Regions from separate parts of the Homo sapiens genome. Here all the other regions are linked to region 3. The links are contacts of gene promoters, found by promoter capture Hi-C in human tissues and cell types (Jung and others, 2019). All regions are on one chromosome and are shown on one strand. The core of a region is centred on a gene start or on the middle of the fragment in contact, and the rest is flanking DNA. Distances in the headings are between cores, read along the strand shown. Region 1 overlaps TANC2 (tetratricopeptide repeat, ankyrin repeat and coiled-coil containing 2). Region 2 overlaps TEX2 (testis expressed 2). Region 3 holds the start of SMARCD2 (SWI/SNF related BAF chromatin remodeling complex subunit D2). Region 4 overlaps TEX2 (testis expressed 2).

Region 1 (6,562 bases), core at 3,612-6,111, 450 kb after region 3:
AATAATTCATCTCTTTGAGCCTTGGTGCCACTGTCTGTTAAACAGGGAGGAAAACATGGAGAATAATTATATCATTTCCACGGTCCTTTCCAACTCGCACCTTTCTATACCTATAATTTGAGGGACTTTGGCATTTGAGTAAAGTGCTTCATGGAGTTTAATCTCCTTATTATTCAGAGCAGCGATCACGAATTCACATTAATTTGGTTGGCAATTTTGTCTTCGTGCAATCTTTTCTCCTGGTTTCCTGGGTCCTTCAATACAGAGCTTGAAAAAACAATCCTATTGCCTACTTCTTACCTCAGTATAACCCATGCTGGCTGCAGCAATGAGGGCCTGTTGGATGGCATGGCTCTTCTTAAATACTCCTTGCTGCTGGCCGGCCATCGTCCAGTCACACTGAATCAAAAACTTGACAACCTCCAGATGACCTCGGAGTGCAGCATGAACCAAAGCACACTGCCCGTTCTTATCCAAATGATCCACCTAAGAGGAGAGGACAGGAGATATGTGTGAACACAGACTTGTGGCTGAGCTCGCAATCTAGTCACATCCGCCACTGCACAAGCCTAGGCTACTAAGAATCATCCTTTCCACTCCTGGAACCAATCTCTGAGCAAATTCAGGAGACTCTGCTCAGCCTAGATTATTACTGAGCTACAACTATGCTAAATGTCCCTCTGGGAAGAACTTCTTTTCCTCAGAAAAGGTCAGACTTTTTTTTTGCATTCCAAGAAAAACAAAAACCAAAACTCTCAGTTTGAGCTTCGTCTTCCTGAGGTAAATTCTTCTTTGTCTCCTCAAATAGTTCATTTTAGACCAAGATTTGAGAAACTGGTAGCTCTGCTGGCATAAAAAAAATTATCTTTGAAATCAAAAAAGGGAAGAAAAACATTATGAAGCTACAATTTTTTGGCCTTCCAAAGAAGCAAAACATCTCACATCATGAATCATTTGACCACCAAACTTTGGCAAAGTCTGCTTCTCTCTTCCAGCAGGAGGGAGGACTCTCAAAGATCTGCCCCAAATGGCTAGAGGCACTTCTGGCTTAGTGCACCAGTAGCAGTCTTCATAATTTCAGTGTTGGTTACAAGTTTAGGCTGAAAGAAGACCCTGATCAAGATTGATTTACCAGAAGGGCCTTCGTTTCAACAGATGAGTAGCCTTTCATTAGATGAGTAGCCTTTTCTGGTAGGTAGGTGGTACTTGTCCTGCGGTAGTTAGATCAGTTGAAAATATAAGTTCTGTTTCTGGCTTTCCTACTGATTTCAGTTCCATCCAGCCATCCACATAGTGAATATTTACTGAATACAGAGTATGTGGCAAAGTACCACTTAGGTGAATAAGACAGTAAATATATAGGTTCTGCTCTCAAGGACTCTCCAACAAGGTAGGGGAGATGTGACCAATGTGACAAGAGCCTGTCCAACAAAGGAGTATACAATAAATTTAAAGGAATGTAAAAGTGAAATAACATTTCAGAGGAAGGAAAGATTAATTCCTGGCTAGAATCAGGAACAGATTCAGACAGAAAGGTCTATCTTGACTGGCTGAGATGGAAAATGATTAATGTATTCTACTTTTTGTAAGAGTAGGGCACATGAAAGGGAAGTTTAAACTCTAAGGCGGAAAAGGTCTTTTGGGACAGAGCATGGATATTTCTGAATGCCAGGCTAAGTGGTCTGAATTGTAACCAATAGGCAGTGAAGTCATTGAGTGTTTTCATGCTCAGAACTGTATTTTCAAAAACTAAGCGAATGGATAAAAGAAACCATGGCTCCTTGGAGAAATGGTTGATTCCAGGACTGGGGTAAGAGATGAGACTAGAACATCTTGTGGTGTCAGAAAGTCTGAAAATGCTCAAAAATTAATAGAGGGAAGTTGAAAGGACACAGGAATCAGTTTGAAGGAGTTCCCAATGGCCAAATCTGGGGCAAGGTGAACAATGAAAATGAATAATAATGGTAATGGATTTCAGGCTATGGAATAAAATAAATATCCATGACTTCATAGCAATATCAATAAATACTTGAATAAATACATGGGGGAGAAGGGATCGCTTTCCCTTTCAGTAACATCTCAATTAATACATGTTGAGGGAATGATGGAAGTAGAAAATCACTGTTAGGCAAACATCAAAGCAATAATTATTGCAGTGGCTGGGCATGGTGGCTCATGCCTGTAATCCCAGCACTTTGGGAGGCCGAGGCGGGTGGATCACCTGAGGTCACGAGTTCGAGACCAGCCTGGCCAACATGGTGAAACCCCATCTCTATTAAAAAATACAAAAATTAGCTGGGTGTGGTGGTGGGTGCCTGTAATCCCAGCTACTCCGGAGGGTGAGGCAGGAGAATCACTTGAACCTGGGAGGCGGAGATTGCAGTGAGCTGAGATCATGCCATTGCACTCCAGCCTGGGCGACAAGAGTGAAACTCCTCTCAAAAAAAAAAAATAATAATAATAATAATAATACTTACTGCAGCAAGAATCACTGATGGATCCTAATATTAGTGGACAAAAGTATGACAAGAACCAGGATGTCTGTCTTTCTAGTCTCAAAAGCATAACCCTAAAAGATATTTCTTAATTACAAAAGGAAAAACAGTAACTTCAGAGCTGAGAAACCTGGAAGACATTACCTTAGATGCCTGTTGGGGGTCAATGTCCTCCTAATTCTGGAGTAGGGATTAAGCTAGAGTGATCAAATGCTCAGAAGAATCCAGCGAAGAAAAAGACTTCTGAAATAATGAAGAACATTATTCCGTATTGGAGGCCTTTTTGGACAGGTATTGTGCGGTGGCCTTGGTATGTACTTTCTTGGACAATGTCGCATCATCACTGATATATGGTCAGTGTGTTGGTGAGCAGGTCTAGGGTAGCCAAGTGACTGAGGTTAACACCACCTGTAATAAGACCTATCAACAGCAGGGACTTCTAGTGCTGCATTTTTATAAGGGTACAGCATTGCTTACGTGGTATTCTTGCCAAAAATATATACACTCAATCTCACAGTGAGAAAACATTAGATAAACTAAAATTGAAAAACATTCTACAGAACAACTGGCTGGTATTCTTCAAAACTGTCAAGCTCATAAAAGATCAACAAAGACTGAGAAACTCTCACAGGTTGGAGGAGACTAAGGAGGCACAACACTAAATGTAATGTGAGATCCTGACCTGGATTCTCTAATGCAAAAATGATCAGTGGGACAGTTGGACAAATTTCAGTAAGGTCTGTAGATTAGTTAATAGTATTATCACCAAATTACTTTCCTGGTTTTGATAATGAGACTACAATTACTTAGGCTGTTAACATTAGGAGAAGCTGAATGGAGGATATATAGAAACTCTATGCATTTTTTTTTGCCTACAAGAGAATTATTTTATTTACTTTTATTATTTTAAATTGACACAATAATTGTACATATTTATGGGGTACAGTGTGATATTTTGATACATGTATGCAATGTGTAATGATCAAATTAGGGTAATTAGCATACCCATCACCTCAAACGTGTATCATTTCTTTGTGTTGGGTCTCTGCACTATTTTTGCAGTATCTTTGAAAGTCTAAAATTACTTCAAAATAAAAGCTCTACAAAAGCTAAGGGGATGGTGTGTAATAGATGAGATGAGAATCTGAAAAACGGGTTTGTTACACAAGAAGACTCCAAGAATAATTCAGGGGGATAGTGGCAGTTGGGGTAGAGACCAAGGAGTAGCTTCTCAAGCTCTTTTGAGGATAACATTGAAAAGTGCTGGCCACTAAATGAATTAGGAAGGGCAAAGGAGGGAAAGATGTCAATGACTCCCTAGTTCTGAGAAAAACGGAGGCTACATTAGCAGACTTTGAAAATCCAGAAAGAGGAGGGTAAAGATGCTGAGTGATTTTAGAAAGCTGGATCTGAGGAACTAACTAGTCAGGGATATGAACATGCCTGCCAAGGAAGCAGTTACAAATGTGAAACTACAGCTCAAAAACACTTTCAGAAATTAGCAATTTGGGGTTAAGAGTCACCAAAATGTAGGTAGGAGAACTAGAACCCAGTCGGGTTTGACGCCAAAGCCTATGACTTTAATGCTGAAGCCATGGCGAGTATGAGGACGGAAGGAAGACCAGAGGATCTCAGTGAACAGTTCTATCAGAAGAAGAAGAGAGGGGCAGCCAGAGAAGTGGGAAATGACATTAAAAGTTTACTACTGGCCGAGCACGGTGGCTCACGCCTGTAATCCCAGCACTTTGGGAGGCCAAGGTGGGTGGATCACCTGAGGTCAGGAGTTCAAGACCAGCCTGGCCAACATGGTGAAACCCCATCTCTACTAAAAATACAAAAATTAGCCAGGCGTGGTGGTGTGCGCCTGTAGTCCCAGCTACTTGGGAGGCTGAGGCAGGGGAATTGCTTGAACCCAGGAGGCAGAGGCTGCAGTGAGCCAAGAATGGTGCCACTGCACTCCAGCCTAGGCAACAGAGCCAGGCTCTGTTTAAAAAAAAAAAAAAAAAAAGGTTTATTATTGCTAATACTATGGAGGGGCTCAGAGATGTGAGGAATAAGACAAAGCTGCTTTATTTGGTGAATGGCAGTCATTAGTGACTTTTAAAAGAGCAGCTTGGTAGAATGTAGGGAGGTTGGGTTATTTTCTTTTTTACAGATACTATTTATTAGGCACTATATAAGATTAAAAGAGACTTTAACACCTCTTTTAAAAAAAGGCTTTATCTCTTTCAATGCTTACACTGACTCTTTTAACACCCTTTTTATAGATGAAAAGTGCGATTGAGAGAGGTTAAGTGACTTGTTCAAGCCCTTGTATAAATTAAGTATGGACACAGGATTTAACCCAGTTGTGTCTGATCCTAAAGCTTATCATTTTAATGAGTTGCCTCCTCTCTCATTCATGGAAGCCAGAATGCAAGTGGTTAAGGAGTAATAAAGAGGTGAATGTAGCCAGTATAGAGGACTCTTAGGACAGGTTTGGCAGAGGTGAAAGGGAAGAGATGGGATGTTGCTTCTGGTTAGCAAGGGAGAGGAACATTTCTTTTTTAGGTTAGGTAGGTTTCTACATTCATAGGTTTGTAGAAACTGAGAAAAAAGGTAGTGTGAATTTAGAAAAAGAATGAAATAACGTGAGAGAATGAGCAACACCGTGGGTTAAGAGTGTAGAGGAGGAGACAATTGCTCTGGAAAGGAAGGTAAGTACTTCCTTCTCTAAGGCAAAGTAGAGGTGAGCGTACGTAAGAACTGATAAGAGTTTTGAGATACAGGCACCTTGAGATGAGCTCGATCACAGTGATGAAGGGCAGAAGAGGCGTGATAGGATCTTGAAAGAAGTACATATGAGTTACATTTCTGCTCTGGGGAAAACAATGAAAGATGAAGAAAAGGATGGCTTGGCAGTGTAAGGGCTGAACAGCAGGAAAGACCCAGCTAAGATCAGAATATGAAGTGACAGCAATAGTAAGAAGGGCTGGCTGCCGTGGCTCATGCTTGTAATCCTAGCGCTTTGGGAGGCCACAGTGGGAGGATCTCTTGATCCAACGAGTTTTAGCAAACCTCCGAGCAATATAGCAAGACCCTGCCTCTACAAAATAGGAAAAAAATAAAGCTGAGTGTGGTGGCACATACCTATACTCCTGGCTACTGGGGAGGCTGAAGACTGCAGTGAGCTACAATCATGCCACTGCACTCTGGCCTAGGCAACAGAACAAGACTTTGTCTCTAAAAAGAAAACGAAAATAGTAACGAGGCCCAGTTATCATTGTTCCTAGAGGTGTCCATTCAAATGAATGGGATGTCACAGGTGCACAATCACTGTGCTACAGTAAACTTCTAAGGCTCTGAGATGTCATTGAGAGGCCTACGTCTCAGTTCCCAAAGGAGTGGAGGAGTCCCACTTTCTCCCCTCGTAACAGCACTGAATACCGCAGAATGAAGTCATACTATGACTTGTATTTCACTATGAAACCACTAAAGTCCTCAGTTTGTTTTCAGGACTGAAACAAAATACTATGAGGCCAGACTTTTTTTTCCCAGAGGCCCACATTTGTGAGACCAGCATTTTTCTTTTCACCAATATTGTGAAATCGAGTTTTTATACATAAAGCAAACATATTTTGGAAATATTTTCAGAGAACTGATCAGTACTAACAGAAGCACTTCGAGGTGCCCTTGGTCAGTCTGAGTATAAATAGGGAGAATCATCTTCTCCCCTTATCTCTAGAGTGGTGGTCTTCAAGGACAGGATGAAGGTGTCTGGTCCTGTTCTCATCTCCATGGCTAAGTTTTCTTCTCTACACATGAAAGGCTTAGAGCCTGCAGGTGTCATTTGGTCCAGACCTGCCACTGCAGTCTCCTGGCTTCCTCACTTCTCCTTCCTCTCTTTGTTAAAAAGAGGCTTCTTCTGAGCTCAATAGATCATTTCTGGGTTGTTATGTAGAAACTTTTTGTGGTTACGGATAAATGCAGTTTCCCAAGCACCTCTCAAAGGGTTTAGAACTGTGTGCTCCTGCAGGATGGATGGCAGTGGCCCTGCACATATGCAGAACCAGCACTCTCTCTGATCT
Region 2 (6,638 bases), core at 2,708-5,207, 360 kb before region 3:
TTAAGCTTAGCGTTAATAAATGAAGTGGAGCAAAAATGACTCACGCGTGGTTGCTGAGCTTTTTCTGATAGGGTGGTGCAGTGACTACCTGAAGTACGTGCTCTCCAAGTAAGTTCGTGCTAACTTTAGCAAGGAAAAATTGCGCTTATATTAACTCTAGTACCTAATGACTGACTGTGGCATTCAGTTTAAACTGGTTTGAGCACTGACTTGTCTTAGGAAGATTTTAATTTTAATCCAGTCAATCTTTAGTGTTTTTTTCCTACCCTCTTCTCAGATGTAAATTACTTAGTGTCAATCCAATCACTGTGATATGTCAAGAGTTTACTAACTACACAGGGTGCCGATGGAATGGGATTTTAATGTTATAGCACAGCCTGGTTGCTTTGATCTGATCACTGGAAGAATAAAGGCAACACTGTGATGCTGAGCACTGCAGTGGGCTAAGTGTTGGGTGTATTATCTCATTCAATCCTCGTCACAACCCTGTTCAGTTAGCGTATATGTGCTCATGCAGATGGAGGCCCACAGAAGTTAAGTTATTGCCCAAGGTCACACAGCTAGTGTGTGGTGGAGCCTTGTAGGACAGTGTTTTCTTTTAAGGAAGGTGTTTTGCCCACAGTGGCTAGGATAAACGTATTTGAATTTTCCTTGTAGAGAACAAGTACTTTAATGCTCTCATAGACTGACACCCCTAATCCAAGCAAACTGTCATAGACTAAGCATTTATTCTTCCTTATTGCTGTTTGGACAACTCTGATCACTTTGGTAATTCTTTTTTCATTCTTAGCCTTAACTTGTTTAGAATGGTTTCATTACTAAAGAGGAAAAGTATATTTTAGCCTGAAGTCTTTTGTTGGGTATGCGGTGTTGTTTTTAGAAACTGGGCTGAATGCATTCTCTATTTAGAAAAGGGACACTACTATGAATTAGAAGGATATGCTGTCTGTTACAAGCTAATTTCAAATGCAAATGTTCTTTGGACTTAGTTAATTTTACTGAATGGGAGATTATACTCTTGGGAACCGTTTTTAAACTATGGTACTTTAAAACATTTAGCAGCGTTGACATTAACTTTAGGACCCAAGTTTACTGTTATCTGTCTTCCCTAATATTCCATAAGCTTCATGAATGCATAGGCCCTGTCCATCTTGTTCATCTTGTATCCTCAGCACCTGCCACGTATTAGGTATGTGATAGGTAATTGTTGGCTGAATGGATGGGTAGATGAATGAAGGAGTGAGATTTTATCAGAAGATTTGAGCAGTGAGTTGGTATTGACCCTGTCATCTCCTGGTGATGTTGCTTTTTAAAAGAAATCCCTAGCTGGGCATGGTAGCCCACACCTGTAATCCCAGAGCTTTGGGAGGCTGAGGCAGAAGGATCACCTGAAGCCAGGAGTTTGAGACCAGCCTGGGCAACACAGCAAGATCCCATCTCTACAAAAAATTTAAAATAATTAGCCAGGTATGGTGGTGCATGCATGTGGTCCCAGCTACTCAGGAGGGTGAGGTGGGAGGATCACTTGAGTCCAGGAGTTTGAAGCTGCAGTGAGCCATGATAACACCACTGCACTCCAGCCTGGGTGACAGAATGAGACTCTGTCTCTAAAAAAATAAAATAAATCCTTGATGCTTGCTTTAAAAAAAATAGGGTTTAATAGGAGTGATCTTTTAAGAAAATGAAAATAATTACTAAAAAGTAAAGCTTTTGGTTGGGCGTGGTGGCTCACCCCTGTAATCCCAGCACTTTGGAAGGCCAAGGCAGAGGATTGCTTGAGGTCAGGAGTTCAAGACCAGCCTGGGCAACATAGTGGGACCACCATCTCTATAAAAGTTTTGTTTAAAAAGCCAGGTGTGGTGGCGCAGCTTGCAGTCCCAGCCACTCGAGAGGCTGAGGCAGGAAGATCGCTTGAGCTCAGGGGGTCAAGGCTGCACTGAGCCGTGATCATGCCACCGCACTCCAGCCTGGGCAATAGAGTGTGACCCTGTCTCAAAAAAACAAAACAAAAACAAAAACAAAAACAAAACAGTAAAGCTTTTCCTAAGCTTTTTTTCTGAAAGTGGACAAGCCAAGACAGTCCATCTTTAACAGGATTTGAAGCTTGACATTTGTTGCTTAGAAATCGACTGGTGACCCAAGTCTGCTCTCCTGTGACCAGTGCTCACGCAGTGCTGCCCTCCTGAATGCAAAGGGAGTAGTAGAAAGGCAAATACTGGCCGGGTGTGGTGGCTCACGCCTGTAATCCCAGCACTTTGGGAGGCTGAGGCGGGTGGATCACGAGGTCAGGAGATCGAGACCATCCTGGCTAACAGTGAAATCCTGTCTCTACTAAAAATACAAAAAAATTAGCTGGGCGTGGTGGCGGGTGCCTGTAGTCCCAGCTAGTCATGAGGCTGAGGCAGGAGAATGGCGTGAACCCGGGAGGCAGAGCTTGCAGTGAGCTGCGATCGCACCACTGCCCTCCAGCCTGAGTGACAGAGCGAGACTCCGTCTCAAAAAAAAAAAAGAAAAAAAAAAGGCAAATACTAAGTGGAGGATTGGAGAAGTGGGCAGTGATGAGTTCCAGATTTCCACTCTGCCTCCAGGTTGATGGCTTTAAAGTGATGTAGGAGATAGACCTTGGTTTCTTTATAAAACAGGCCTGTGAACTTGTTTCTAGGGCAAGCCAAAAGAGCCACTTATTGAAAATGTTTGATTTCAGGGGATAAGTGAGCTGGTTTGAATTATTTTGTGTACATCTGATCCAATTTAGTTGGTATTTACAGAAGATGGTGCAATTCTTGAGGGAAGGTACGGAAGCCTTTTTAAAAAGCTCACCAATATGGAAGACTATAATACCTGCCTGCGACCGAGATCTCCAAGACAGGCCCAGCCCAGGACCGAGATCCCGCATACTTTATGCCCTAAGAGGACTCCATATATGAGCTGTGAACCAGTCAGGCAGTGAGCTGGGTGCTCAGGGACTGTTTTAGGAGACCATGTGGTTTTGAACCTCTGAGCCGTATAAGTTCTCACTGATGGGTCCAGGAACTGCTTGCAGCCAGACTGGACTAAGAGTCTTGCCCCTTTACTGGTTCCATGAACAGTTCAAGGAGCATTGCAGTTTTTCTTCTGTGTAACTTCACATGCTGAGGAAAGAATGGAGAAAAGGAAAGTTTTTGTGTACTTTATCAGGGTCCTCACTGCAGACATATGTATTTATATATGATGCTGCAGCAGTGATACATTTATGGGATGACAAACCAAAAAGACCAATTTGCAGCCAAGTAGTAGCTAATCTCAAAGACTGTTGTGTGGTTGTCTAGGCCCTATGGTACTCCGCCGTCTCCCGCTCTGAACCCATTTGATCAGCAGCTGTACTGTCTAGAATATAAGTAAAAAAGAGGCCGGGTGTGATGGCTCACGCCTGTAATCCCAGCACTTTAGGAGGCTGAGGTGGGTGGATCATGTGAGGTCAGGAGTTCAAGACCAGCCTGGCCAACATGGTGGAACCCCCTTCTCTGCTAAAAATACAAAATTAGCCGGGTGTGGTGGGGCATGCCTGTAATCCTAGCTACTTGGGAGGCTGAGGCAGGCGAATTGCTTGAACCTGGGAGGTGGAGGTTGCAGTGAGCTGAGATCGCACCACTGTACTCTTATTGCCTGGGCAACAAGAACGAAACTCCGTCTCAAAAAAAAAAAAAAAAAAAAAAAAAAAGTAAGACCTCTATGTGGCCAAAGAGCTGTCACAAAGTCCACAGAAGAATTCTTAGGACCTCCTCCAAAGCTTGCTTGTTCTTAGTATGTTGGAGTTCATAGCTGATGAGAAGCAGCAAATAGGAGAAAGGTTGCTACAGGCATTCAACAGGAAGTGGCATGTGAATGCACATGGTATTGGCACAAAGGCCAATACCAAAATGTGAGAAGAAGCTCATAGGACTTAGAGCATGGTGGGCTGGGCAGGTTAGCTCAAGGCAAAGAGCCTCGTGTGTGCCACAGACCAATGGCATCCCTGTAGTGACACCCCCTGTGTGGTAGCCTTCAGGAGTTCTTATGTTGGGTGACTGTCTAGATGCCCTAAGCTGGGGACCTTGGGAAAGGGTGGGTTTGGGCACGGGGAAAATGGGGCATTTAGAGTCAGCAAACTGCACTTGGCATGTTTGCTTAGCCAAATCAGATGGTCCCTTGCCCAGGATTATTTTTAATTCAGAGCCATTCCTGTTGCACACTAACTTTCTACATGTTTATAATGAAAAGCTTCCTGAAGATTTCATAAGGGTCTTGGATTTATGTTTGAGTATATGACTCAGATGCAATTTTGAATTATATTCACGAGCAAATTCTTTATCTCAGATTTATAAACCACCAGCAGAACACAGCAGTAGCATATTGGTTTCCAGAGTGATAATCCATCTCTTTTTTAAAGATATGGCCTGCAAGTTTGACTAAAATTATATTTAGGCCATTGCAGAAACTAATAGAAATGGATTTTGGAGAACTTTTTTTTCTTTAGATTGTGTCACATGTAGATATTTAATAAGAGGGATAGGTTTTAAAAATAGGTTCCCTGAATATAGGCTTTGGTTTTGATATATAAAAGAATAATTTTGGGGGGAGGACATGATCAATTTTGAGGAGAAATTCCAATTTGTAAATTTAATCTCAATTTGTTGAAATTCTTTCAAGAAATTAGAGTAAGCAAGTCTTTAGGAGAAAATGGCCATTACATGCAGCCCAAAGAGACTTGGATTGCTTTTTGTTGGTCTCTTATAACTTAGAGTAAGGACAAGAAATGTGAGTGCATTTCTTTCTACATTATACTTTACTGAAAATATCCTGCCCCTATAATGGGTTACCTGAGTTTTTATGTATGGTTTTTATAAACATGGCTATTTCCCAGTGCCCCTTGTAGAATAGTTTTCAGGTGAGATGTTTGTTTGTTTGTATGTTTGTTTGTTTTGCCTCGCTCTGTCGCTCAGGCTAGAGTGCAGTGGCACAATCTTGGCTCACTGCAACCTCTGCCTCCCGGGTTCAGGCAATTCTCCTGCCTCAGCCTCCAGAGTTGCTGGGATTACATGTGCGCATCACCATGCACGGCTAATCAGTGAGATGTTTTGATGCAGGCAGCCCTCACTTACCAGAAGGTACCCCTTGTGTTGAAGTTGGAGAGGCAGCTGTGTGGAACGTGCTTCCTGAATTCCATAGGAACAATATGGTTAAGGATGTCAGGTAGTCCCAAAATGACTTTTTTGAACTTTCATTTTTAAACTATTTATTGATGAAAATATTAAATACAGACAAAAGTAGAGGCAATAGTAAAATGAACCCCCCATGTGCCTGACACCCAGTTTCAACAATTGTCAACATTTTGCCAGTTTTTCACTCAATTCATTAACTTATGGCATGGCTGAATTGTAATTCTGGTTACCTATATATAAGTACAGTTTTTAGCATCCTGAAAATACCTTCTGAACTCTGTAAGAAAAGTAGCAAAAACATCGAAGATTCTTATTGTAATTATTGTTCAATAATTAGCCGTTAAGAAGAGGTTTGCTGTACTCCAAAGATGAGTTTGCCAGCAAGATGGTTCTAGGGCATGAGCGTGTTTTTTTGTGGGTGCCCAGGCCATAGTTGTTGACTCACTGTTTTCATTCCATTGCTTCTTTCAGTGGTGTTCAAATGGGTTGCAGAAGACACTAATCAAGAAGAAAACAGTAAAGTTTCCGTCTGTATCAGTCTTTGCTCTTTCTAGTTGAGAAAGTAAATAAGCCTTGCTGATATTTAACATACAGATGACCATATATCGACTTTTGGCCAAAAACCTTGGAAATTATCAGTAAGACTCTGAAATACAGATTTACACTCAGGATCATCAACAGTGATCCTCACCTTGAGTGTATGTATTGTGCCTTAAGGTGTCAGCTGAAGATAGTACAAAGCTGTCATACTGGAAAAACTAAAAATTATCAAAAGGATAATTATTTCATCTTTTGCTCTTTATTTCTATTCTGTACTTTATATAAAAGCTGTATATATTGGGACATGTGTATAAATTATAAGTAAAGTATATATTTGTACATACCCAAAAAGTTGTTTGATAGAATGCGTGATCTGAAAAGTGACAGAGGCTGCTAATTTATTTGCTTGCTGATCTATTTATCTTACAATTTTAACCCTTGTTAATATGATTTAATGTTTATCATGTATTAATGTAACTCAGACCTTGGTCATTTCAGTGGTTCATCTGAGATCATTTTACCTTTCTAATTTGAATCCACGTTATCTCCTATTCTATTACTGTCTGTCAGTGCATTATAATTTCAAAAATGTTCTATGGCCACCTGAGTTTGGGAGATTCTGCACTGGAGGATAGGAGAGCAGGATAAAGCTGTGGCTTTAGCCCTGACTCCAGTGCTTCTAGTGTCACTGCTGGGAAGGTGACCTTGAAGCAGGCAGTTGGAGGATGTGGACGGTATTAACGGCGCTTCCCTCCCCTAATGGGCTTTCTTTCTTTTCTTTTTTTAATGTTCTTTATAGTGTCTTTGAGCAGCATTTATTTTGAATGTTGACTCCCTGCTTAAGGCTATCATTTATAGTATGAATTCTGGATGTCTGTGGGTCTGCTTGCCTTTCATGGGTAAAATCAAATTTGTATC
Region 3 (6,518 bases), core at 606-3,105:
CTCTTAACCCACTTTACAGGGATGGGAGGGGCCATGATTCAGTGACTTTAACAATTCCAGTGGCCAGTCCCCAGACTGACAGGTTATCGACTCTTGGGGCAATAGAGTGGGATCTCTAAGTTCAGGAGGTAAGAAAACAGCAGCAGCGGTGTTTATCACTAGAGGCATGAGGAGAACTAATTTCTAAAAAGCACTGGAGAACTATACTGTAAAAAAGATCTGGGGTGCTATGATGCAAGGAAGGAAGTATTACTTGGTTGGGGCTGGAAAAATAAAGCAATTATAGTAAAAAAACTAAAAAAAAAAAAAAGTCTAGATCCCGGCTTCTTGACAGTGTGGTCTGAGAAGCAACAGCATCGCTGGCAGCTTGTTACAAATGCAGAGTCCTGGGCCCTGCCACAATCTGCATTTTTAATAAGAGCCTCGAGTGTTTTTTATGTGCTCATTAAAGTTTAAGCAGCACTGGTCCATATCACGGCGAGGAGATCCAGACCATCAGAGGGTAGGCTCCCTGGCACAGCTGACGCATTTTTGAATACTTTGATACAGCACAGTGTACCTGAAAAGATACTGCATTTTTGAAAATTAAGTGCTATAAATACTGGAGAAAGACCTCTTTTTTTAAACTGCGGGGAGGTTTCTCATAAGCCAAATTTCTTTTGACTAGAAGCATTTTCTGGGGAGTAAAGTACCAGGCTTCCTTAAAGTGAGGCGGAGCCACGTTAAAAATGTGCGGTAGAACTCAGCCTTGGCCAAGTCGACCGTTCACCAGCTGGGTCAAGTCTGGAGCCTCCTAGGTCCCTTGGCAGTTCCGAGCTACCAGCATGAGCTTTTACAGGAAGTTGAGTTGGCTGCTGTTCTGCCCCACAGAGCAGCTGAGTCTTTTTTTTTTTTTTTTTTTTTTTTGATGAGTTTCACTCTTGCCGCCCAGGCTGGAGTGCAGTGGGGCGATCTCGGCTCATTGCAACCTCTGCCTCCAAGGTTCAAGCGATTCTCCTGCCTCAGCCTGCCGAGTAGCTTGGATTACAGGCGCCCGTCACCACACTCGGCTAATTTTTGTATTTTTAGTAGAGACGGGGTTTTCACCATGTTGGCCAGGCTGGTCTCGAACTTCTGACCTCAGGGGATCCGCCCGCCTCAGCCTCCCAAAGCGCTGGGATTACAGGCGTGAGCCACAGCTACCGACTCTGAGTTGAGTCTTTAACGCCGAAGATGCAGAAAGGAGACTTGACAAAACTATTTTCGGGGAGTGTGGCCGCGGAATTCGGTGAGGGTGCTATACCGGGAGAGAGTAGTAGCAACGGCTCATTCACTGTGAAGCCCCTAAGTGACCTTAGACCTCTGACCCCGCGCCTCACTCGGCGCTTCCGCGCGCAGCTTCCGCTCCCGCCCCTCCGACGAAAGGCTGGGCCAAAGGTGGGGGGGTGGGGCTCTGAGGTCGGCAGTTAGGGGCGGTGCCCGCTGGGGGCGGGTCTCGCGAGGGGCAGGATTCGAGGAGGCACTCGAGCATTGGGCACCAGGTAGAGGCGGGGCCTAGTGCTGGGCTGGGTTGGGCGGGGCAGGGAGTTCGTAGCCGCCTCTGGGTAACTCGACTCGGGCGGCCAAACCTCCGGAGGCCGGGGACGGAAGGCGGGCCCGCAGCAGATCCTGGATCCGGAATCTCCCGGGCAGGAGCGGAATCTGTCCCGAACCGGGTCTGTGAGGAACTCGCGAACTTGGATTAGGAAATCCCGGAGCCCGGATCGACAAATCCCGGAACCCGGAATTAAGATCGCCAAGTCCCGGATCGCGGAGCACAGAGCACGGAGTGGACTCGACGCGGAGCCCGGAGTCCGGATCGCGGCACCGCGGGACGGGACGGAGCGATGTCGGGCCGAGGCGCGGGCGGGTTCCCGCTGCCCCCGCTAAGCCCTGGCGGCGGCGCCGTGGCTGCGGCCCTGGGAGCGCCGCCTCCCCCCGCGGGACCCGGCATGCTGCCCGGACCGGCGCTCCGGGGACCGGGTCCGGCAGGAGGCGTGGGGGGCCCCGGGGCCGCCGCCTTCCGCCCCATGGGCCCCGCGGGCCCCGCGGCGCAGTACCAGGTGAGCAAGGAGGACGCGAGCGGACGGGGGCGAGAGGCGCTGCGAGGGCGCCCGGGCCGGCGGCTGAAGGGGCCTCGAGTGAGGGCCCTGGGGAATGCATGAGGAACTCCGGGAGACGGTGGAGGGCGGGCCGGGACCCTCGGGCTGCGGCGGGTCGCGGTGGAGAAGTGGGAAGGGGAAGCAGGTTCTGCAGCGGAGGGCTGGAAGCAGCTGGGAGGCCTGGGGGCTTCCGCGGCACAGGGATTCCGAGTGACTGGGAGATGGAGGAGTTTGGGGAGCCAGTGAATTGTGGCGGGTGGGTTGAGAAGTCTAGGGTAGGAGGGCTGGAAAGTGATGAGAAAGTTTGGGAAAGGGCCCTCGCTGAGAAACCGGGGTTACCCTGCATCGGCCTTGGTCCCAGTCCAAGTCTGCCCTGTTTTTTCTGATTGGGAACTGGCGGAGCTCTAGCGTGTCTGAGATGGCTCCCGGCTGCTAATAAGGAGGAAGGAGCCTGGCTTCCCACGGGCACGGGACGCTGAGGCTAGGGCCAGGGGATTCCAGCTTGTGCACGGGCGGACTTTACTCCTGAGGCAGGGCCAGGCGCCTTCGCTGGGAGGACTCCAGCTTAGACCAGAGACGGTGGTGGCCTGGCCTGAGGGGAGGCCCAGCCCAGTCACAGGCCGGCTCTCTTCTGGGCTTTCTGCCTCCTGTCATCGTGTCCGGGAGTTGATTAGTCTGGACGTGCAGAGTGGAGCCCTGCTGGTCTGGGGCCGGAGGAGTCTGCGAGAGTTGCTTCAAAGAGTGCTGTCCTGACCCCTTTGGGGTTTTGAGAGCTGCTCAGATTGCAGCTTCAAAAGCCCTTGCAAAGCAGCGACTTCTGCTCAGTGTGTGAGGACCTCAGCCTGACCCTGCCAGTGCTCTAGTCTGCTGTTCAGGTTGCCCCAGAGGGCTTGGAAACTGTGCCCATCTGCCTTGTCACCCTCTCTGCATTTTTATTTGGCCTTCAGGTTCTAACTCCACCACGTCCGAAGCCATGTGCCCAAGCATTTGACACTGGCTTCTTGCTCATCTACGGGTTTGCTGTGGGCTTCCTCTGTTTTCGACTCATGTCTCCAGGCAGAGGTCCTTAGGGATCCTCGTGGAGTATACACAGCCTACCTGCCCCACTGGGCCCTCACTTCTAAGGAGATGGCTTAACTAGGGACAGTGACTGGATTTTTTTTTCCTTCTTACTCCTCATTCTTCCTCCTTTCTCAAGAGAAAAGAGAGTCTGGGTATGGGCAGAGACAGACCTGGTCCCAGGGATTCCAGCTGGGGCTCATCTCTCCCACCTTGCTGTCCCCGTTGGGGATTCATGGGCCCAGGGTGTTGCTGAGGGCTCCCTGCATCATTCATTGTAGCCCTTGGGCCTGCCCACTGAGACCTGGCCTGGGCACCATCTGTGGGCCTTTGGCCTTGGAAGGACCTGGAACAGACAAGCCGCTCCAGTTTCCTTGGCATGCAAGCCATAGGAAATGTGCCCTTGGGACAGCCCCTGAGAGGATGGATTCCACATGTTTTGGTGGGGGGTGGCCTTGGGCCTGTGGCAAGGCCAAGCTGGCTGGCTGGTTAGGCCTGGGCTGCTAGCTGTGCGGAAGTAGGAGATGGCCCTGAGTCTGGGTTTCCCATCCCACTAGCTTTCCTCCTCCTGGCAGGAGAGGTAGATGGGAAGGAGAACCCAGCCAGCTAACTTTGGCTGAGTTTGAAGAGGATCCTATTTGCCTTCTTTCCAAGTCCAGTTGTATGACTGCCAGGAGAAGGGACTTGAGATCTGGGAAACAAAGGGGTTCCTGTCTGTTAGGGCTCATGAGATGCACTTGAAAAGTGAGAATTTGAGGCCCAAGCTGAGCAAATAGTTGAAAGAAGGGAAGTGATGACCTCCCTTCCTCCAGAGGGTGGTTCTAGCTGTGGATCACAGTTAACAGAGGAACCTAAAAAAAGAAAAAGAAAAGAAAAAAACCTCCAGGGCAGGATATGGTGGGCTCACACCTGTAATCCTAGCACTTTGGGAGGCCCAGACAGAAGGATTACTTGAGACCAGGAGTTCAAGACCAGCCTAAGCAACATAGTGAGACCATCATCTCTTAAAAAAAAAAAAAAAAATTTAGCCAAGCATGGTGGTGTGCGCTTATGGTCCCAGCTACTCAGGATGCTGTGGCAGGAGGATTGCTTGAGTCCAGGAGTTCAAGGCTGCATTGAGCTATGATCCTGCCACTGCACTCCAGCCTGGGCAACAAAATAACAAAAACCTCAGATTGCTGGGTTCACTCCAGAGAGTTCAAAAAGTTCAAAAAAAAAATTTTTTTTTTTCTGATACGGAGTCTCACTCTGTCGCCCAGGCTGGAGTGCAGTGACATGATCTCAGCTCACTGCAACCTCCGCCTCCCAGGTTCAAACAATCCTCTGCCTCAAGCCTCCTGAGTAGCTGGGATTACAGGCGCCCACCACCACGCCCGGCTAATTTTTTTGTATTTTTAGTAGAGACGAGGTTTCACCATCTTGGCCAGGATGGTCTCGAACTCCTGACCTTGTGATCCACCCGCCTCGGCCTCCCAAAGTGCTGGGATTATAGGCGTGAGCCACTGCACCCGGCCTCAAAATCCTTTTTACTCATGGGAGAGTGGGTGGTATGTTCCCCAACTGAGGCCCTCAGGCCCAGGTTCCAGGAGCATCAGGGCCACATTTGGGGCAGGGCAAAGCACGCTCACCGGAGCCCTGGATTCCTCATCTGGGGTTCAGGGGATTGATCCAGGCCTACCTGGTCCTGCTGCAGGCAGGGAGTTAGGGAGGCTCAGAGTGCTGGACTGCTTTTTTTTTTTTCTTTAACTCCTGAGTTGTTTTTTTTTGTTTGTTTTGTTTTGTTTTGTTTTTTGAAGTGGGAGGAGTTGCTAGCGCCTATAAGCCCTATGGAGCTTGGCAAGGCTCAGCTGGGACTTGAACTATAAGCAGCCTTCCCCTGGGGCCCTGAGTGAGCCAGGGGCTCTGGGCCCAGGAAACCTGGAGCAGATGTCTGGGTGGAGCCTATTCCAGACCCTGCCTATGAGGCCTTGTCTTGGGACTTCCTGTTACCGGAGCACCTGCCCAGGAGGGATGGGTGGTGCTGCAGGTTTTGTGAACACTGCAGCAGGGAGCTTCCTGGGGACCACAGGGCCCTCGCTCACCTCTGCAGGACCCACTGCTTCAGTTCTTCCCTGTCTTTGTCTCAGGCACTAGGAAAAACTAGTCTGGGATGTCTGGGCCTGGGCTTACAGCTGTAGCCACACTTAGTTTTTTTCTATAATCTCAGGCCAGAGAAAGAACAATCTTTAAGGCAGAGAAAGAGGCTGTCTTTTGCCTTTCAACAGCTCTGATTAATCTCTTCCTGATGCAGAGAGACTTTGGCAGGACTCCCAAAGCCCCAGAGCCCCCCACTTTGAACTTTTTATTCTCCCAAACACTTCCGTCCCACCCTGCTCCTCCTCTCCCCATCCTCACGTCTGTGGGTCATGTTTCTTTCCATCTCCGCATCTGGTCAAGAATCTGACCCTCTGTGTTGGGAACATGGGTTTAGTGCGGGATGAAGAGGTTGGGGAAGAATCTCATCTCCATGATGCTGGGGTGGGGGAGGGTCCTTTGATTTGGTACAAGTCTCCACCCTGCCGGGCTTGGTTGGCTGGTTGTGCTCGTTGCATAATCTGGGCCCTGGGGCCAGCCCTGTGAAGCTGCCAGGGACAGTGTGTGCAAGGCAGAGCTGCCAAACAGGCCTTGCAGGCAGCAGCCATGGGGAGGCGGGTGGGGGTGGAGGTGACTCCCAGATGGGCTCCACAGAAATGTCAGGGAGCAAGGCCTCAGGTGGGAAATCCTTCTGCAGGCATCTAAAGAAGCTATTTCTGTCTCCCACTTTCCTGCTGCTCAGCCTGGGCCTCTATCCTTGCCTCCCAGGATAATCTTAGCCCCCTTCTCCAGCTTGGGATTGCCAGGGCTACACGGAGCCAGAGCCAGTCCTGGCTGCCAGGTGGTGCCTGGACCACTGGCAGAGTCCAGGTGCTAGCTGCTCTCTTTCCCACAGGCCACCCAGGAGCCATAGCTTCCCTTCTGGGGTCTTCTGTCATAGGGGTAGTAGTTGGGCAGTAGGGAGGTAAGAGGAGGGTCCAGTTCTGGGCTGTGGGTGGGGGCTATGTGATACCAGACTACAGGGTACAGGGTCCCTGTACCCTGCCCGAGGCCACCCCCACCAGCTGGTACACGTTCCAAGCCATCCTGTTGCAGCCCTGCTCACCTGGGGTGCTGCTGCCTACCAGACCCCTTTCTCCCTCGGCCACAGAGGATGGGGATTGGGGCTCTGCGCCATTGGCCTACTCATACTATAGTACACTCCTCTGCCTGGCAGTGACACTGCCCCTGTGCCTCTCAGCCATGCTTCTTCTTCATGATGGGAGA
Region 4 (6,006 bases), core at 3,153-5,652, 390 kb before region 3:
TGAGTTGCCTAAACCACTTTCTTTTTCCTCGTGTATTAAATGTGGAAATGATGATAGTACCTACCTGGCAGAATTGTGAGGCTTAGATGAGATAGTGTTATAATGTTGGTAAAGTGATTAGCTAGAGGGCTGGCAGTCATAAACGTTGATTGTTGTTCTTGTTGGTTCAGGGTCCCTCTGATACATCTTCACAGATCAGGACTGCGTTTGACTTGGATCTCTATGGCCCTTTTTTCCAAGAATTCCTGCCACTTTACTGGACTGGGTCATGCGCTGCCCAGTACCTAAAGGTGTTCTTTAACCACAGAAATTAAAATGGCAATCATAATGTTTTTGGAGGAAAAAAAAAATACCTGTATTTTCTGAAGAAATAAATAACCATTGTATCTTTGTATTTAAATAGAGTAACTGCCAAATCAATAGGATATTTTGAGAACAAGTGGTAATATTTCTTGGTGTCATTTACTCCATCATAAAGATCCATGGGGAGAGAGCAGTGTGGTTAATTATGATGTTCCTGTGCTGTCACTGCCTAAATTGACAGTGTATGAAGTGCCGTCCCATTTATTCTTTCTCCCAACAAGCTGAGGGGTGGGGTTTTACCATCATGGTCCTCATTCGACAGATCCAGACCCAGTGAGGCTGCTCCTGAGCTGGTGTTTTTTCCAGTTAGCCTCAGCTGTCAGCTGCGCCATGGAGGATGATTTTGGGTGTTGAGTTATCTGGGTGGTATTTAATGGGCTCCTAATTGCACATGGATGGCCAGAAAGTTCTGCTCCTGTTTTGGCGTTTTGCTTTGGCAGACAGTGCTCTCTGAGGACTCACATAAGCTGGAAGAAAAAAACCCAACAACAAACTCAACGCTAATCATCTGGAAAGACAGGATACTGCTGTTAGGCAGATATTGGACCTGTGAACAGAAAAACATCAAGATCACAATTTTACAGCGTTTGTTTCTTTGAAATGTCAAATGGAGCCCCAATACAGCCATCAGGTTTATAGCACCTCCAGAATTAGATTAGACGGTGTGGTTCCATGCTGTGTACTTGTATTTCTGGTTATGAAATGCTCCTTGTGCTTATTTTCCCCAATCTGCTGAGAAACACTTTTTTCTTGTTCCTTTATGCATTCACGTTTCTTTTTTATTCCACTTGCCTTTTTTCCTTACCCCTTATTTCTGCCTTCTGCTCTGCTTTTGGCCTTTAGACAGCAATGGAACAGACCTTCAGGAATGGGCGTCCATGGAGGCCCTGGCGGGGGCCAGCTCTGTACCTAGGATCTGAGTTGGGGGGTTAGGACCACGTCCCAGGAGGTAAGGCCACAACTCAAGGGCAAACAGTACAGGCATGTGTAGTGAAGATCAGGAGCAGGACATGGTCTCACTGTGCCCTGTGTCTATGGAAGCAGCTGCCCATTTCTGATTCTTCAGATATTTTAAATGAGTTCATTGACCTTGATAGAGACTTGCCCTTCTTTGATGTAGTTACACAGCAATAGCCTGTTAGAAAGCACTTGCCTCTAACATGGTGCCTTGCAAGGTAGGTGTAGACTATATTAACTAGTTATTGGTGCCAGGGAATAACTGGTACTATATCTCCACCTGAATTCCTCGTGATTCCATTGTCTCTTTCTGGGTATGCATGTGTTTTTGTTTGTTTGTTTGTTTTTTGAGATGGAGTCTCACTCTGTCACCCAGGCTGGAGTGCAGTGGTGCGATCTTGGCTCACTGCAACCTCCACCCTCCAAGTTCAAGCGATTCTCCTGCCTCAGCCTCCCAAGTAGCTGGGATTACAGGCGCCTGCCACCGCGCCTGGCTAATTTTTTGTATTTTTAGTAGAGATGGGGTTTTACCATCTTGGCCAGGCTGGTCTTGAACTCCTGACCTCGTGATCCACCCACCTTGGCCTCCCAAAGTGCTGGGATTACAGGCGCGAGCCACCACACCAGGCCGCATGTGTGTTTTTAAAGTGTAATGCATTCCTAATGGTCCAAGTTGTTTTACACCAGTGAATCTCAGTTCCAGGGTGGGCCCCGGGGCAGGGTATGTGTGTGTGTTTGGGGGTGGGGTAGTTGTGTGTGTGGTTGTGCACATATAGGCTTATGATGACTGGGGAATTAAAAAAATGTCTTCCAATCCATCAGTTGTGAAACTCCACAATCATGATAAGCCTCAAGATGGATAGGGGTGAGCTGGGTCATTTGTGTGTTGAAGATGTTGCCTAGGATTTTCTGGTACACTAACCCTTCCCTCAATCCCAAATGCCTCTGCCTTTTTAGAACTGTGATTAAGAAGGTAATGATTAGGGATGATCAGTTGTCTCACCAGCAGTCTGTTAGGTGGAGCTGACCTGGGCTCATGCCATCTGCAAAGGAACCCATGGGAACCAGGGACCATTTTCAGCATTTGAAAAGGCTTAACAGAAACTATGCTTTTACCCAGGATGAACATACAAAAGCTACCCAAACCATCAAGTTTCCTTGCTTTTGTTTGGAATTGCAACCCTGTATGGAAGGTTTCATGCTGACTCCACGTTCTGATTGGCTGTGGATGACATAATAGGAGTTTCTGACACAGGATTGGTCTAACTGTAGATATTGTTACTGGAGCTGGTACCAGGTCTCACTTCCCACTACCTTTAGAATGAGGTTGACCTTGAATGTGAGTGCCCTTGACTATGGAAATGAAGCCACTGATTGTTTCTTGCTTGCTCAGCTATGCTTATTATCACACCTGTGGCAGTGACTTGATTTTTATAATGTCATTATGAACCCCTTATAAATATGGATTGTTGATTAAAATTTGGATCAGTATTGAAATGGAAGAATAATACACAGAATTAATCAGTTTACTGGTAAACAATGTAAGAATATTGAAAAACATGTGGCCAACATGGGGAGGGGACAGAAAAAAAAGAGGTTGATGAAACTACAGATCTTATCCACAGCTCTCATTTAAAAAAGATCCTTTTTCATCAGCTTTTCACTGAAATCAAACACCAATAACTCTTTCACCACGAAACACCAACTATTAATACTTAGTCTCTATAAGCCTCCTAGGATCCTGTTGTGTTCATTTACCTAGGTGATGTACATCATCCTAAATTCTGCCTTTTCATTTTGTATTACGATGTATATGTACAGTACATATTTTTACATTGTCATTGTGTCATTCTTAATGGTCACAGCTGCCTGAACTAAACCTAAAGTCAGACAGTCAGGACAGTCCAGTGCTGGTGATTAGAGAAGGCTGGAAACAAGCTGTCTGATCCCGGATAACATGCCGGTGAGTCCACAGGCTGAGTCGGCACGGATAAAAAGATGTGCTCACACCTGCTGTGGATGCTGATTATAGTAGCTTACATATGTTAAGTGTTATTTCTTAATTCTCCCAGCAGCCCCTATGAGATAGGCACTATTATCTGCATTATATGTAAGGAAAAAGAGGCCTTTTGCCGTAACTTGTCCAGGGTGACACACTGATAAGAGGTGGAACTGGAATCCAAAGCTGGGTCTGTTTAATTTCAGAGTTTGAGTTCTTAACCAGGTTTTCTGTGCAATTGTGTTGCACCCCAGGACCTATTCAGTTCTCACCTCCCTTCAGAATCTAACCACCTTCCACCTTAATAATGACAAACACATCTATTAATATGCATTAAAGTGACAGAAGCTTAATACTGAAACAAGATAGAGTGGATGTTGCTGGCGAACAGGAACCCCAGAGACGGTCCTGTCCACATGAGGCTGTGTTAGTTTTCCTAGAGCAGAGTGGTGTGAAGGGCCAGCCTGCATTCAGTCTCTCCTTTGGTTCCGTCCTTTAGTCAGCCTCAGAGTTTTTCAGACTTGAATGGGCACAACAGTGACCACACAGGGTTGCCTGAAGCACATATATGGTACTTGGTGGGAGACTCAAGATTCTTAGTGAGGCTGAGAAGTGGTGCTTGGGTGATGTTTGTACAGAGTAAGAACTAATGAAGCACTGGGATAGAGAGCCCCATGAAGTTCAACCCCATCACAGCCTGAGCAGGAGCAGCCTCACAGTCACCTTCTGTACTGTTTGGCAGTAGGTGGGGGAAAGATAGGGGCTGCTGAGGAGGCCAAGTTGATGCCTGTCCTCTGGTGCCTGAGCACATGCAGGTGCGGCTGATCTGCAGCTCATTCTCATAGGTTGGAAACTCTCCACCTAATGGCCAGCACACATAAGGGATGTTTCTACAGCTGGGCTGAGCAAGACAAGTCTGGAAAGTCTAGAAGTATTTGTTAATGGGAGATGAGCTGTTTCAGTACTATTTGAAAAATATTTTGACTTAATTGCCTTAGGCACATTAGTCAGCTGATGTGCACTCTGGTTTGCTTTCCTTGACTTTAACAGTTGCCAAGAATTTCTCTTGTTACAAAAGAGAAAAGTAGGACTCTAAGTATGTTCTGTTCCATGGAAATTGAGTCATAGACTCTTAGAATTTAGAGCCTTCTGGAAAATTCCTTGAAGACAATGGAGGAAGCTTCCCTCAGTTTACAGCAGAACCCCAGGCTCAGGGAGGTGAAGTGGGGAGCTCCGTCACTGTCATTTGAGGGCCATTTGAGGGCTGTGGTCCTCCGTGGAGCTCCTCCCTCTGCTGCCTCATGGCCTCACTCGGTCTGTGTTTTCAATGACTGATTTACTACTAACTGAACAATTGTCTGAATCCCAATCATCTCATCAGTGGGCAATCCTTTCTTGGCATGATCCACAACAGAGGTAGAGTTGGGTGGGGAATGTTCCCCCTCAGGGCCTATAGGCAAGTGGTTCTCCTCAGGGAACCATGAGGTGGCCAGCCGGCCAGGTCAGGACCATGCCTGTGCCAGGAACCAGTATCTCCTAACCTTGCCAGTTGTGAACATGGCTCTGGGTTTCTTGCCTCTATTCCTTTTCTTCTGCTTTGTCCTCCACTTAAAATGTACTCTCCATTTTGTCTTGGCGGGGCACCTTGTCAGGTCCCCATGGGCCAGCTCACACGGGGCCCCTGGGAAACCTTCCACCATGCCTTCTCATATTCCTCCCATCAATTCCTATTTCCCTCAGTCCCACTCTTTCCCCTACACACACATGTGTGCACACATACATGCACATACACATGTGCACACATGCATGCACACATCTTAAACCTGGTTTAAAAAAATTTATCTTCTTTGGCCCTCAGATGCCTTACCTATAAATAACATTCTGATGTAAGATTACACTTAGCAAATTTACTGCCCTATATCAAGGTTAAGTCTGCTGATGCCTGTGTGAAAAGGAGGGTTTCTGACTGGGGGAAACGGCTAATTTTTTTGAGTTCTTAAAGAGTTTTTTCAGTTTTTGAAGAATTAATCTGAAATACGTTCCTCACATTGAGAAGCTGAATGGCCAGTGATCAACCTAGATGTAAGCTAGGTTGTCTAATTTCCTAATATGATTTGAAGGGAATAAATTCAATGCTTTACAGTTTATTATAGCTAGAAAATAGAGAAATGATTGTCCATATCAGTCAGTTTTTCCAAAGTTAAAATTTAGATCCTTGTATAGGAAACAGAGCAATATGTGTGTTATGTGTGTTATATACACTATTGTCAGCGTTTTCTAAAAAGATTTCAAAGACGAATGTTTTTATGCTGATGGAATGGGAAGGCTTCATCAGGAAGCTGTAAAAAAATCCAGAAGCCATAAAGAAAAAGATAGAGAGCTTCAACATCTCAAAATGTAAAACTTTGTATATTAAAAAAAAAACCCATACAATTAAAAGGCAAGTCAGAGATGGAAGGAAATATTTGGAACACATACAATAGACAAAGTATTAACTATCCTTGATAAAGAAGTGAATAACAAAAGTCCTTGGGCAAGAAATATGAACGACCAGTTAACAGAAGAAGAGAAGCAAATGAGGGAAAAGTATGAAGTGACTATCAAAGCATTGAGATACCTTTTCCCTGCCCACTGAATGGGCAGAAATTTAAAATAATATTCAGTCTTGACCAGGGTTGAAGGTGGAC

The links. Contacts are between HindIII fragments. The study calls those that stand out against the background at their distance.
Region 1: a contact is called between a fragment that was not itself captured here and the fragment with the promoter of SMARCD2 in region 3, in 1 of the 25 tissues and cell types used here (pancreas).
Region 2: a fragment that was not itself captured here is called in contact with the fragment with the promoter of SMARCD2 in region 3 in 1 of the 25 tissues and cell types used here (dorsolateral prefrontal cortex).
Region 4: a contact is called between a fragment that was not itself captured here and the fragment with the promoter of SMARCD2 in region 3, in 1 of the 25 tissues and cell types used here (aorta).

What each region holds. Positions count from the first base shown.
Region 1 is chr17:63,389,667-63,396,228 of GRCh38, reverse strand. It overlaps TANC2 (tetratricopeptide repeat, ankyrin repeat and coiled-coil containing 2), which reads right to left. Exons shown (of 28, transcript NM_001394998.1): 18 at 301-486. The region is part of intron 2 of LOC105371856 (a long non-coding RNA gene); the gene reads left to right. Among named protein-coding and RNA genes, the nearest start is that of CYB561, 53 kb to the left of the region's middle. The HindIII fragment of the contact is 5,988 bases long and covers 1,868-6,562 here.
Region 2 is chr17:64,203,613-64,210,250 of GRCh38, reverse strand. All of the region lies in intron 2 of TEX2 (testis expressed 2), which reads left to right. Among named protein-coding and RNA genes, the nearest start is that of TEX2, 56 kb to the left of the region's middle. The HindIII fragment of the contact is 3,761 bases long and covers 2,077-5,837 here.
Region 3 is chr17:63,838,022-63,844,539 of GRCh38, reverse strand. SMARCD2 (SWI/SNF related BAF chromatin remodeling complex subunit D2) reads left to right here and starts at 1,855. Exons shown (of 13, transcript NM_001098426.2): 1 at 1,855-2,081. The coding sequence starts at 1,866. RefSeq lists a cis regulatory region at 1-253, silencers at 1,363-1,532, 1,903-2,132, 4,957-5,251 and enhancers at 2,853-2,932, 4,957-5,251. The HindIII fragment of the contact is 13,907 bases long and covers 1-6,518 here.
Region 4 is chr17:64,229,236-64,235,241 of GRCh38, reverse strand. The region is part of intron 1 of TEX2 (testis expressed 2); the gene reads left to right. Among named protein-coding and RNA genes, the nearest start is that of TEX2, 31 kb to the left of the region's middle. The HindIII fragment of the contact is 5,262 bases long and covers 1,772-6,006 here.